5 separate regions of the Homo sapiens genome follow, and regions 1, 2, 3 and 4 are each linked to region 5. The links are contacts of gene promoters, found by promoter capture Hi-C in human tissues and cell types (Jung and others, 2019). All regions are on one chromosome and are shown on one strand. The core of a region is centred on a gene start or on the middle of the fragment in contact, and the rest is flanking DNA. Distances in the headings are between cores, read along the strand shown. Region 1 overlaps RBM39 (RNA binding motif protein 39). Region 2 overlaps ITCH (itchy E3 ubiquitin protein ligase). Region 3 overlaps DYNLRB1 (dynein light chain roadblock-type 1). Region 4 holds the start of AHCY (adenosylhomocysteinase). Region 5 holds the start of TRPC4AP (transient receptor potential cation channel subfamily C member 4 associated protein).

What was found. Contacts are between HindIII fragments. The study calls those that stand out against the background at their distance.
Region 1: a fragment that was not itself captured here is called in contact with the fragment with the promoter of TRPC4AP in region 5 in 1 of the 25 tissues and cell types used here (aorta).
Region 2: a contact is called between a fragment that was not itself captured here and the fragment with the promoter of TRPC4AP in region 5, in 1 of the 25 tissues and cell types used here (psoas muscle).
Region 3: a contact is called between a fragment that was not itself captured here and the fragment with the promoter of TRPC4AP in region 5, in 1 of the 25 tissues and cell types used here (adrenal gland).
Region 4: a contact is called between the fragment with the promoter of AHCY here and the fragment with the promoter of TRPC4AP in region 5, in 1 of the 25 tissues and cell types used here (small bowel).

The regions. Positions count from the first base shown.
Region 1 is chr20:35,735,196-35,737,895 of GRCh38, reverse strand. All of the region lies in intron 3 of RBM39 (RNA binding motif protein 39), which reads left to right. Among named protein-coding and RNA genes, the nearest start is that of RBM39, 5.7 kb to the left of the region's middle. The HindIII fragment of the contact is 5,614 bases long and covers 1-2,700 here.
Region 2 is chr20:34,453,942-34,456,641 of GRCh38, reverse strand. The region is part of intron 12 of ITCH (itchy E3 ubiquitin protein ligase); the gene reads right to left. Among named protein-coding and RNA genes, the nearest start is that of MIR644A, 11 kb to the left of the region's middle. The HindIII fragment of the contact is 4,557 bases long and covers 1-2,700 here.
Region 3 is chr20:34,518,952-34,521,651 of GRCh38, reverse strand. All of the region lies in intron 1 of DYNLRB1 (dynein light chain roadblock-type 1), which reads right to left. Among named protein-coding and RNA genes, the nearest start is that of DYNLRB1, 3.9 kb to the right of the region's middle. The HindIII fragment of the contact is 5,242 bases long and covers 1-2,700 here.
Region 4 is chr20:34,302,038-34,304,737 of GRCh38, reverse strand. AHCY (adenosylhomocysteinase) reads left to right here and starts at 1,383. Exons shown (of 10, transcript NM_000687.4): 1 at 1,383-1,495. The coding sequence starts at 1,468. RefSeq lists enhancers at 1,019-1,138, 1,159-1,208 and a silencer at 1,779-2,008. The HindIII fragment of the contact is 38,207 bases long and covers 1-2,700 here.
Region 5 is chr20:35,091,368-35,094,067 of GRCh38, reverse strand. It overlaps TRPC4AP (transient receptor potential cation channel subfamily C member 4 associated protein), which reads left to right and starts at 1,261. Exons shown (of 19, transcript NM_015638.3): 1 at 1,261-1,454. The coding sequence starts at 1,287. RefSeq lists a silencer at 1,360-1,489. The HindIII fragment of the contact is 9,696 bases long and covers 1-2,700 here.

The DNA.
Region 1 (2,700 bases), core at 63-2,562, 640 kb before region 5:
AGGTGTGAGCCACCGCGCCTGGCCTTTTTTTTTTTTTTTTTTTTTTTGACACGGAGTCTTGCTCTGTTGCCCAGGCTGGAGTGCAGTGGTGTGATCTCTGCTCACTGCAAGCTCCGCCTCCTGGGTTCATGCTATTCTCCTGCCTCAGCCTCCCAGGTAGCAGGGACTACAGGCGCCTGCCACCATGCCTGGCTAATTTTTTGTAATTTTAGTAGAGACAGGGTTTCATTGTGTTAGCCAGAATTGACCTTGTGATCCGCCTGCCTTGGCCTCCAAAAGTGCTGGGATTACAGGTGTGAGCCACCGTGCCCAGCCTCTGTCTTTATTTTTTCTTTGAGACAGAGTTTCGTTTTTGTCACCCAGGCTGGAGCGCCATGACACGATCTCAGCTCACAGCAACCTCTGCCTCCTGGGTTCAGGCAGTTCTCCTGCCTCAGCCTCCCGAGTAGCTGGGATTACAGGTTCCTGCCACCACGCCTGGCTAATTTTTTTTTTTTTTTTTTTTTGAGATGGAGTTTCAGTCTGTTGCCCAGGCTGGAGTGCAGTGGCGCAGTCTTGGCTCACTGCAACCTCTGCCACCCGGGCTTAAGCGATTCTTCCGCCTCAGCCTCCCGAGCAGCTGGGATTACAGGTGCCTGCCACCGCACCTGGCTAATTTTTGTACTTTTGGTAGAGATGGGGATTCACCATCCTGGCCAGGCTGGTCTTCAACTCCTGACCTCGTGATCCACCTGCCTTGGCCTCCCAAAGTGCTGGGATTACAGGCGTGAGCCATCATGCCCAGCCAATTTTTGTGTTTTTAGTAGAGACAGGGTTTCACGATGTTGGCCAGGATGGTCTCCATCTCTTGACCTCATGATCCGCCCGCCTTGGCTTCCCAAAGTGCTGGGATTACAGGCGTGAGACATGGACCCAACTGAGACTCCGTCTTAAAAAAAAAGTCTGGGCTTGGCGTGGTGGCTCACACCTGTAATCCCAGCACTTTGGGAGGCTCAGGCGGGTGGATCACAAGGTCAGGAGATCGAGACCATCCTGGCCAACATGGTGAAACCCCGTCTCTACTAAAAATACAAAAATTAGCTGGGCGTGGTGGTGCACGCCTGTAGTCCCAGCTACTCTCGGGAGGCTGAGGCAGGAGAATCGCTTGAACCTGGGAGGCAGAGGTTGTAATGAGCTGAGATTATGCCATTGTACTCCAGCCTGGAGACAGAGCGAGACTCCGTCTCAAACAAACATAAAAATCTGTCATACTTACGACCTTATGTTAATGAAAAACGAGAGAAAAATAGCCATTTATTTGATTTCTTTTTGGCTCTTTTCCTCCTAAGATCCCTAAATGCTTCATAGTAAGTATGTCAGTCTTTCTCACTACAACTGTGTTAGGTAGGTTGATAAAATTTCATAAAACAGATGAGAAAATATATAATGTTATTCAGGGCTTGTTAAGCCACTATTTTTTTTTTTTGTAGTTCCCCTAAAATAATGTGGTAATGGATTAAAAATGATATAATTTGTAGAAAATGTGCTCCTTTTTTCTGGTATAAGCTTGGATGGGAGTCATTTATAGTTCCTCACCAATCACAAGAAATTGTGGGGATCAGGTTGGGTTTAGTCTTGATGTGGGATCTGATGCAACCAACCAGAGGTATGGTTTATGTCATCTGGTTTTAGACTTTCTGCCACAGTAATGGTTTCCTAATGTTTTTGTTTTGCAATTCTCTAATCAAAAGAAAACCCAGGAAGGTGTATCCATATAAATTGACATAAATTATCCAATTTAGGTGTCAGGCCGAGTGGCTAAAGATTTCGCTTCAAGTGCCAGAAGGATAAGAACGTACACTTTTGGGTACAGACCTTCGTTACTGTACCATTGTCTCATGTCGCTTTTTGCCACTAAGGTCATCTCCGGTGTCTACTTGTTTTTATCCTGTGTATAAGCTGATTAAGGCTACAAGCTTTTACAAGGAAGCTGAGCATCAAGTTCTCCATGTGTGATATTCGGTGGCCTTTGTCTAATGTAGAGAACCACAGGACTAAATAGGAGAATGGACAATTTTCTTTAACCATGAGATTGTCTAAGGGAAGATCCTTTCAAAACACTTTGGTAATCTTAAAATACTTTCCAGTCAGACTTCTCGTCAATTATAGGTGATAAATAAATGATTCCCTTGTTCAATCAGGACTCTTGATTTTCTGAAGGAACTTTATGTTTCAAATTAATTTTAAAGTTACCTGGAAGAAAATTTTTGTATTTAGGAATAGATATAAAACATACAGAACACTCTGCTTTAAACCTTTAGTACTAAATTAAATTTCTTAACCAAAGGAAAGTGCCGTGTTGCATTTTTCATTCTAAAACTTCATTGTCTTAAAAGCCACATTGAGCTATAGTTTGTTAGGTAGTAGAAAAATGGCATGTTCTGAGAAACAGTTGACTGAGTATAAATTTTTTTAATTGTATAATTCTGATTCTTAACATACACTTCATAGTATCCTAGAATAGTAAAAGGAACAAAGTTATTGTGACACAGACTGGTTGTCAACCTATTTTCTGAAGAGCTGTAAACCTGAGTTTTTGCATATGTCAAGGTATGCATCCTAAGTGCTTGAGCTTGCCCTCATGGGAATATTATTTGTTAAAGTAACCAGTTTTGCAAAGTCTAAATCAGCGTCCATTCCGTTAAGCTCTTTAGAGAATTA
Region 2 (2,700 bases), core at 124-2,623, 640 kb after region 5:
TTTTTTTTGGAGACAAGGTCTCACTTTGTCACCCTGGCTGGAGTGCAGTGGCGTGATCTCAGCTCACTACAGCCTTGACCTCCCAGGTTCAGGTGATCCTCCTGCCTTAGCCCCACAACTTGTACAACTTGATTTTTAGAAACTAAGCTTTTTAAAAAGTTTGAATCCATTCTGTGATCTTTAATACATCAGTTATTCATTTTGAGACATGTTGAACAAATAAAAAAATTAGGATACCAGAAGAGTCCCATCTTTTGAAGAATTAATTGGTAATGGGACAGAGAAGCAACTTCCGGGGCTAAGGCAGGAGGGTCACCTGAACCTGGGAGGTCAAGACTGCAGTGAGCTGAGATCATGCCACTGCACTCTAGCCTGGGTGACAAAGTGAGGCCCTGTCTCAAAAAAAAAAAAAAAAAAAAAAAAAAAATATATATATATATATATATATATATATATACACACACACACACACACACACACACAATATATAAAAATATATATAAAATAAGGAATATAATGTAATTTGAGAGTGTGTATATATACATACATATATATACAAAATAAGGAATATAATATAAGGTATATGCTAGGCATTATTCAACTAAAAAATACTTCCTTTCTTAATACACTTAACATATCTCGTTCCTTAATATACCCAGTTCCAAAATCCTAAATATCTACAGTAACTTTCTATACAAGGGATAGGAAGCAGAACTCAGTTCTCTAATTACTGCATCTAAAGCTGCTGCTTGTTCCCCAACTGCCTCTTGCTTTAGGATTCTCCCTGTTTTCGTGTTCCCAGTCTACAAAATTTTACCTGCTTTCCTGAAATCTCCCCATTAAGGTTTAGAAGATGTGGATATTGGCCGGGCGCAGTAGCTCATGCCTGTAATTCTAGCACGTTGGGAGGCAGAGGCGGGCGGACTGCCTGAGCTCAGGAGTTCAAGACCAACCTGGGCAACATGGTGAAACCCCGTCTCTACTAAAATACAAAAAAGAAAAAAAAAAAAAATTAGCCAGGCATGGCGGTGTGCACCTGTAGTCCCAGCAACTCGAGAGGCTGAGGCAGGAGAACTGCTTGAACCCGGGACGCAGAGGTTACAGTGTGCCGAGATGGATTACAGCCTGGCGACAGAGCAAGACTCCGTCTCAAAAAAAAAAAAAAAATGTGGATATCATTTTCTCTTTTAGTAAACAAATTAAGTAGACTTGAAATTTTAACAGTTCTGCTGTTTTTGAATTACTGACTTCTCTGTCCCATTACCAATGAATTCTTCAAAAGATGGGATTCCTGCTGTATCCTAATTTATTTGTTCAACATGTCTCAAAATGAATAACTGATGTATTAAAGATCATAGAATGAACTGATGTATTAAAGATCATAGAATGAACTGAAACTTTTTAAAAAGCTTAGTTTCTAAAAATCAGCATTTTAAACAAAAATTTAAGTTTAATCCATGTTGACATGGCTAATTTTTATTTCCTGTGGTTTGAAAAATTGGTTAACTATTGGTCCTGCGCTGTGGCTCACGCCTGTAATCCCAGGACTCTGGGAGTTATAAGGCAGGCGGATGGCCTGAGGTCACGAGTTTGAGACCAGCGTGGCCAACAGGTCGAAACCCCGTCTCTACTAAAAATACAAAAATTAGCTGGGCATGGTGGTGGGCATCTGTAATCCCAGCTACTAGGGAGACTGAGGCAGGAGAATCGCTTGAACCCGGGAGGCAGAGGTTGCAGTGAGCCAAGATCATGCCATTGCACTCCAGCCTGGGCGACAAGAGCAAAACTCCATCTCAAAAAAAAAAAAAAAAAAAAAAAAAAAAACAGGAAAAGAAAAAAGAAAAATTGGTAACTATTTTTCAAATTAACACTTGAGATCATCTGGATCAGTTTTAGGCCAAATTATAGTCTTGTCAAGTTCGTATTTGGTAATATTTAATTTTATTTCCAATATAATTCCATGATTTCAAGTAGTAGTGATAACAGAGGTTAAAATGGATGTAACTAGTGAGTATCACAAACCTGCTTCTGACATTTAAAGCTACTTTCTATGTCAGCTTAGCTTAAAATGAAAATAGAATTCCAATGTGCATAATATACAGAAAAGTGGGACTCTGCCTCTCATGACACAGGTTTTGCTGGTCAAGGCATCTTCAGTGCATAAGCTTATCACCAACTCAAAGGCTGTCTCTAAAGAAAAACATAGGCCGGGCGCGGTGGCTCACACCTGTAATCCCAGCACTTTGGGAGGCCGAGGCGGGCGGATCACGAGGTCAGGAGATCGAGACCATCCTGGCTAACACAATGAAACCCCGTCTCTACTAAAAATACAAAAAATTAGCCGGGCGTGGTAGCGGGCGCCTGTAGTCCCAGCTACTCGGGAGGCTGAGGCAGGAGAATGGCGTGAACCCGGGAGGCGGAGGTTGCAGTGAGCCGAGATCGCGCCACTGCACTCCAGCCTGGGCGACAGAGCGAGACTCCGTCTCAAAAAAAAAAAAAAGAAAAACATAATCACCCACAGTGTTACAGCTTGCTCTTGTTAACATAACAGCAAGATAAGTTCATGTCTTGGCAGTCGCATTAAATTTTAAAAATTTATTTGCAGAATCCAGAATTCTCTCTTTGTTCTTCTTCTTCTTTTTTGAGACGGAGCCTTGCTCTGTCACCCAGGCTGGACTGGAGTGCAGTGGCGCGATCTCA
Region 3 (2,700 bases), core at 87-2,586, 570 kb after region 5:
TGACACATGGAAAAACAAGCAGCAATAAAGATCCAGGAGGATCCATTGGCTCAGCATAGGAGGGATGACCACTGGAAGCAAATGACTGACAAAGAACTATGACCAATTTGACCACTAAACATAAAACTTCTGTATAAGAATAACTAATCTAACAGGATAGAAAAGTATTTGCATCAAATATAACAGACAAAATAAATAAAAAAAAAACACAAAATGACTAAGAACAATAGCAAGTCTCTAGTAGGTAGTGCACAAAAGAATACTAGTAGAAAATATGCCTACGAGAAATTACAATCACATCAAACCATGGTCATCATCCCTCACAAACAAATGAAAAATTCAGCTGGGCGTGGTGCTCACACCTGTAATCTCAGCACTTTGGGAAACTGAGGTGGGTGAATCACTTGAGGTCAGGAGTTTGAGACCAGCCTGGCCAACATGGGGAAACCCTGTCTCTACTAAAAATACAAAAATTAGCCGTCATGGTGGCATGGGCCTGTAATCCCAGCTACTCAGGAGGCTGAGGCAGGAAAATTGCTTGAACCTGGGAGGCAGAGTTTGTAGTGAGCTGAGATCGTGCCCTCCAGCCTGGGCAACAGAGTGAGATTCCATTTCAAAAAAAAAAGACAGAAATGAAAAATTATAGCAATGCTGAGGTTTATTTTTAAATGCTGGCATTGTTATTACAAAACTGGCAGGTGCAAGGGCAATACAATCTTGACAAAGCTACAGGACAATATATTGCAAGAACCATAAAAGCACTGGTCCTTCCACCTCAGAAATTATTTTCCTAAGAATTTTATCCTGAGGAAATAATCTAATAAGTAAGTTAAAATGAAACAAAACAAGATATTCACAGAAGCATCATCACAGCACTATTTCTACTAATTAAGAAATGGAAGCAGCCAGGTATGGTGGCTCATGCCTGTAATCCTGGCACTTTGGGAGGCTGAGGCAGGCGGATCACCTGAGGTCAGGAGTTTGAGACCAGCCTGGCCAACATGGCGAAACCCTGTTTCTACTAAAAAATACAAAAATTAGCTGGGCGTCATGATGCACACCTGTTAATCCCAGCTACTCAGGAGGCTGAGGCAGGAAAATCACTTGAACCTGGGAGGCAGAGGTTGCAGTGAGCTGAGATTGAGCCACTGAACTCCAGTCTGGGCAACAGAGTGAGACTCCATCTCTAAAACAAACAAACCAAAAAGAAATGGGAGCAACCCAAATGTACACAGGTAAGATATTTGGCCAATTATGGTACAACTATTTCACCGAGTATTATGTAGTCACTAAGTAGTTAATCACAAAGATGATATGACAACAAGGTTAAATGTTTTTGGATATTAAAACAACAAAAAAAGAAAAAAATCCCCCCAAAACTCAGCATGCATTATCTTGGAAAATATGCATATGTGAACAAAAGAGGAAGGAGAACATACAAAGATGAAAATAGTTATGTGGCACAGTGAAACTGGACGAGGAGAATTATATGTGATTATTTTTTAATTTTATTTATTTATTTTGAGACAGAGTCTTGCTCTGTTGCCCAGGCTGGAGTGCACTGGCCTGGTCTCGGATCACTGCAACCCCCGCCTCCCGGGTTCAAGCGATTCTAGTGCCTCAGCCTCCTGAGCAGCTGGAATTACAGATGCACGGCTTCCGGCTACTTTTCGTATTTTTAGTAGAGACAGAGTTTCACCATGTTGCCCAGGCTGGTCTCCAACTCCTGACCTCAAGTGATCTGCCCACCTTGGCCTCCCAAAGTGCTGGGATTATATGCGTCAGCCATTGTGTCCGGCCAATTATAGATGATTTTTATATCATTATTCTAAAGGTCAGTTTCCACCTAAAATGTAAAATATGCAAGCCAAAAGTGCCACTTGTAGAAATCTATCCTACATAACCACTAGCATGAGTGCAAAAAAGACAAGAACAGTTACTGCAGCAGTGTCTGGAATAAAAAAACTATACACCACCTAAATGTACATATGGGACTAGGATACGATACAGACCTTAAAAAGAATGAAGTGGACCTGCATATAATAACACAGAAAAATGTGTGATATTTTTAAGTGAACAGAACAAGTTGCAGAATAAGATATATACATATATATCTTAAAGTCAACTTCTGTTTTCTCTTATTTTTTTCTCACCCAGGGTGGAGTGCAGTGGTGCAGTCACGGCTCACTGTAGCCTTGACCTCCTGGGCTCAGGCGATCTCTCCACTTCAGCCTTAAAGTAAAGTTAACATATACAAATATATATATATTCCAGTTTCATCTAATAAACAGCTTATACATAAATGTGCTTATGCACCAAACACATCTGGAAGGAAACACACCCAACTGCCAACAGAAGTTGCCACGGGGTAGTAAGATGGGGACCACATAAACTTTCTATATTATATCCTCTGGTACTGCTTCAAATTGTTAACATACATGGTGGTTTACGCCCATAATCCCAGCATTTTTGGAGGCGGAGGTGGGCGGATCACCTGAGGTCATGAGTTTGAGACCAGCCTGGTCAACATGGTGAAACCCTGTCTCTACTAAAAATAGAAAAAAAACCCTGTCTCTACCAAAAATAGAAAAATTAGCCAGGCATGGTGGCATGCTCCTGCAGTCCCAGCTACTCCGGAGGCTGAGGCAGGAGAATCACTCGAACCCGGGAGGCAGAGGTTGCAGTGAGCTCAGATCACAC
Region 4 (2,700 bases), core at 134-2,633, 790 kb after region 5:
CAGCCTGGGCAACAAGCGCCAAACTCTATCTCAAAAAAAGAAAAAACAAAATTAGCCAGGTGTGGTGGTGCGTGCCTGTAATCCAAGCCACTCGGGAGGCTGAGGCAGGAGAATTGCTTGAACCCGGGAGGTGGAGGTTGCAGCGAGCCTAGATGGTGCCACTGCACTCCAGTGTGGGCGACAGAGTGAGACTCCATAAAAAAAAAAAAAAATTCAGGGGAAAAAAAGCAATTAAAAAAACATAACTATAAAAATAATACAAATTACAAAACAACCATTTGCATAGCATTTACATTATATTAGTTATAAGTAATCTAGAGATGATTAAAGTGTACGGAGGAATGTGCATAGGTTATATGCCAATACTGCCTCATTTTATATGAGGGACTTGAACATAGAAGGGTTTTGGAGTCCACAGAGGTCCTGAAACCAATTTCCCCTTCCCATGCCTGGGATGACTGAATTATACAGCAGCAAAAATGAATATACTCAAGCTATATGCATGAGTCTCATAAATATAATGCTCACAGAAAAAAGCAAGTTGCAGAAGGGTAAATACGGTTGATATATAAAGGTGCTAAACACAGAACTATTTAATGATATACGGATGCAGTAAAAGTATAAGAAATGTATGCAAACTTACTTAAATTCAGGGTGTTGGTTACTTGGAGTAAGGCGAATGTTTGGGATGTCAGTAGGTACCTGACAAATGGCAACTTAACTTTGTTTTGGTTTTTTTGAGATAGGGTCTTGCCCTTTCGCCCAGGCTCAAGTGCTGTGGTGGGATGATAGCTCACTGCAGCCTCGATCTCCAGGCTCAAAAGATCCTCCCTCCCGCCTCCGCGTCCCAAGTAGCTGGGACCACAAGCGCGCGCCACCACGCCCGGCTAATTTTTAATTTTTTTTTGTAGAGTTCAGGTCTCACTGTGTTGCCCAGGATGGTCTTGAACTCCTGGGCTCAAGCGATCCTCCCGCCTTGGCCTCCCAAAGTGCTGGGATTACAGGTGTGAGCCACCGCGCCTGGCCTGCAACTTTACTTATAATAATCTGTGTGGCAGATGTCATTTGGCCCATTTTACAGATGAGGAAATTGAGGCACAGGGAAGTGAACTGGCGGAATTTCAGTTCCGCTGGGTTTTGACACTGAATCAACTGGCTGAACCAGCGAGAGGACGGCCCGGCTGGCTCTCAGGCCTCTCCCGGCGCTCCCTTCCGGACCGGTGAGTGAGACTCCTGGGGCCACGCCTTGTGAAATTCTGAGGCTTCTTTTCAGGGATCGAAATCCCCTCCGGCTCCGCCCTGCGCGTTGGGCCCCGCCCCAGCGGGTCATGAATATGCAAGTGCGAGGAAGATATTTAAAGGCGTCGGCGCCACGCGCATATCCCTGCTCGGCGCTGCCCGCCCAGTTCCTGTTCCCAGACTGAGGCCCAGCCCCCTTCGCCCGTTTCCATCACGAGTGCCGCCAGCATGTCTGACAAACTGCCCTACAAAGTCGGTGAGTCCCAGGACCTGCAGCCGGTTGCGGCCGCCCGGCACCCGCCCGGGGCTTGTTCGTGGCGGGGGCTGCAGGGCCGACTCGGGGCTCTCTGGACCCCCTGGAATCGCAGCCTCGGCGCGTTTCTGGCCGCGCGAAGCCAGCTGGAAGTTGGAGTTCTCGCGCGGCCATGAGCGGGCCGTTCCGGGTGGCCGTGGACTACAAGTCCCAGCATGCCCCGCGACGCCGGGGCCGCCGCGCGGTCTGCGAGCCGCAAACTGGCGGCGTGCTCCGCGGGAGAGCACACCTGGCCACGGCCTGGGACGGCTGGCACCTGCCGGACCCTGCTCGGGGGGCCTGCGCCCGGCCTCCTAGGCCTGGACCGGACCCTGTCCAGCTGGGCGGCCCCGACGAGCGTCCACCCCTCTCTGGGCCTCCTACAGGGACGGCGAGGGCACCCCGGAGGGTGTATGAGGAGAGGCCTGGAAAGCGAGCCCCAGGCCGGCTCCGATCCTCCTCTCCCCTGGGACTTTGGGCCAGTTACCCAACCTGTGGGGTCCCCCACCCCTCCAGCAGGGGCAGCCTTGCAGAAATCTCGAAGAAAATTTGGAGTGGTTTGAAAAATCCTGCTGTCCCACCGATTGAAGTGTAATACAGGGATAGTTAACGTTTACTTAGTGTTTCCTGTGGGATCGGCACTGCCTTCTAGCTTTATTCTAGTCTCATGGCTCTATAGGGAAACTGTTCTCATTTTATGATGAGAATCCTGAGGCAGAGGTAACTTGCCCTCAGTCTTACAGCTGGTGGTGATGGAGCAAGATTGGAACGCAGGCCATCTAGATCTCTGAGCGCACCCTTTCACCACTGTGTGCAAGCGAATACACGCGGAACAATCCTAGTGAATTTTCAGCAAAAACCAGTTCAGTTTGGCTGGTAGCTTTTCAAGTAACTTTGACACTATTGGACCGGGTGTGGTGGCTCACCCCTGTAGTCCCAGCACTTTGAGAGGCCGAGGTGGGCGAATCACTTGAGGTCAAGAGTTCGAGACCAGCCTGGCCAACGTGGTGAAACGCTATCTCTACCAAAAATACAAAAACTAGCTGGGCGTGGTGGCGGGCGCCTTCATTCCCAGCTACTCGGGAGGCTGAGGCAGGAGGACTGTTTGAGCCGGGGAGACGGAGGTTGCAGTGAGCCGAGATTGCACCACCACGCTCCAACCTGGGCAA
Region 5 (2,700 bases), core at 12-2,511:
TTATACCAGTACCATGCTGTTTGGGTGACTATGGCCTTATTGTATAGATTGAAGTCAGGTAATGTGATGCCTCCAGATTTATTCTTTTTGCTTAGTCTTGCTTTGGACATGCAGGCTCTTTTTTGGTTCCATATGATTTTTAGGATTCTTTTTTCTAGTTCTATGAAGATGGATGGTGAGTCTACTCCTTTTAGATGGGGTGTGAGGATGGTAACCATAGTGCCAGTTCACCTGGGAGAGTCACTTTTATGCCTACCGTCCCGGTGTAATTATTTATTGTGTCTTTTCATTCTTTAAAGTGTTCTGGTTTGAGCAGTAAGTTACAGTCATCTTAGTTATGAGTCACAATCTTCACCATTCCCTGTTACATCACACTTAGCTCTCCTCTTTCATTTTTATTACAGGCCCCCTGCTAGGAAGGGAAAAAGTGTGTGTGTGTTGGGTGGGGGGAGTCAGTGCCATCCTGCCACAGAAGTTAGCTGAAAAAATGAGTATTAGAGACAACATGCTATCTGGTGGATAGAAATTAGGACAGGGTTTTCATCTGACAGAGAATATGATGTCACAATTTACTAATCCCTTTCCCTTCCATTATTTAATTTCACAACAACCTACCCAGTTACACAACTTATCCAGTTTGAGACTGCGTTTCTTTGTGTATGGATCTGCTGTCTTCCCCTGTAACCTGCATTTCGTGATAAAGGATCCCAGGCCGTTCTGCTCACCACTGTATCCCAGACACCCTCCCTTTCCCCTAGACATGGTTTGGTGTCGGGCGCAGAGAAAGCCCCAGGAACTACGATTGATCAGGCTCCCAGAATCTATAGATGGAGTGACCTGACGAGGACACAGGCGCAGTGGCAGAGCGCGATGACTTGGTCGATGTCCGCGGTGAGTCACGTGTAGAGAGAAGCAGGCAGGAAGCGGACTCGAGGGCCTGACTCCTGACCTGAAGCCCAGGATCATTTCTTGGCCAGCTGCCTGCATCCTGCCCAAATCGGCGAGAGAAATGGGAGAATGTGGACCTTGGGAGATTTCGCCGAAATGCTGGGCCCGGGGGCCAGAGAAACCGGCAGTGCAGGAAAGGCCACATCTCTTTTCCCACCTACCCCGCTGCCGCGCAGGACTACAATTCCCAGTAGCCTCCACGCCGCACACGGTCCCTGCCACGCGGCTTGCGCCTCCGCCGACGGCCCACTGGGGGCGCTGCGGCGACCCCTCCGCCGCCCCGTAGAAATCTCCGCGGCCCCGAGGCCGCTTGCTTCCTGTTTGTCCGACGAGGAGACATGGCGGCGGCGCCGGTAGCGGCTGGGTCTGGAGCCGGCCGAGGGAGACGGTCGGCAGCCACAGTGGCGGCTTGGGGCGGATGGGGCGGCCGGCCGCGGCCTGGTAACATTCTGCTGCAGCTGCGGCAGGGCCAGCTGACCGGCCGGGGCCTGGTCCGGGCGGTGCAGGTACGAGGCTGGACCAGGAGGGGCGGGGCGGGGCGGACCAGGCGGGAGCTGGCGGGGGGCCGGGGAAGAGGCCTTTCCAGGCCGCCGCTGGACGGGCCAAAGCCCTTTTGGCTGGCCGGAAGGCCTCCCTGTGAGCTGCCCGGACGCTCTCAGCTGCAGCGGGGCCGTGGGAAGCAGCTGGCTTGATGTCCCTTGTCAGGGGCCGAGCGGGGCTGGGCTGCTGTGGACACTGATGGCGTGTACGAACCCTGGGCCCAGTTTCTGGATCCTCCCTTCTTTGCGCCACGTCTACACGTCTGGGGGACCCTGTCGTGTTTGTTTTAGCCTCTGTGGGCCTCGAGTTTATCCCGTGTATTGGGCGTGGGGGAGGGGGTCATCATTGCAGCCCCCAAATGGTTCCCGAGCATTTCATAAATGTCATTTTCTCAGGCCTTTCCTTGACACTCTTTCCTTCCCCTTTCTAAAGTAGGTCCCCATTGTTATTCTGTCACAGCCGCGAATTCGTTTCGTTTACATTACTTTCTTAGTCTATAATTTCGTATTTCTTTGTTGTCTGCCTTTTTCTCGCCCGTCTCCCACATTAGGCTGAGTTCCAGCGGGTGCAGAGACTATATCTGGTTTGCTAGTGTAGAGCGTCACGGTTAAGAGGGACTCTGGAGTCAGGCCTGGGTTCAAAGCCCTGCTCCTCTCTCTTGCTTGGGCAGGTGACCTTTCTGTGCCTCAGTTTCCTCACTTGTAAGATGAAGATGAGAATTAGTAACCTACCTTTTAAGATTGTTGTGGAGATCAAAGGGGGCAATTGTGTAAAGCATTAGTGCATTTCTGGTGCATACTAAGGGCTGAAGGTAGTTAATATTAAGCATCTGACTTATAACAGGTGCCCAACATATGATTATTGTTATTTTTGAGTGAGCGAAGGACACTGCTTTAGGGTAAACCAGGTTGAATAGGACCTAGTCCACTACTTCTTCCACCCTCCCCCACCCCGAACCTTGCTAACACCTGTAAAACATTAGCTTTATTTAAAGACAGCTTTTTCATAAAAAGTTTGAAGGATACTCAAGAAACTGATAAAGTGGTTGGTGGGAGTGAGGTGGGAATTGGGCTAAAGGGGGAGAAAATGGGAGTGAGACTTTTCACAGTGTAACTTTATTTAAATTTAATTTGAATATCACTTCCTCAAATGACGAAAAGGATAGAATAAAATAAAGGCTAGGGGGTCTGTGTGTATGGAGGACTGTGGACG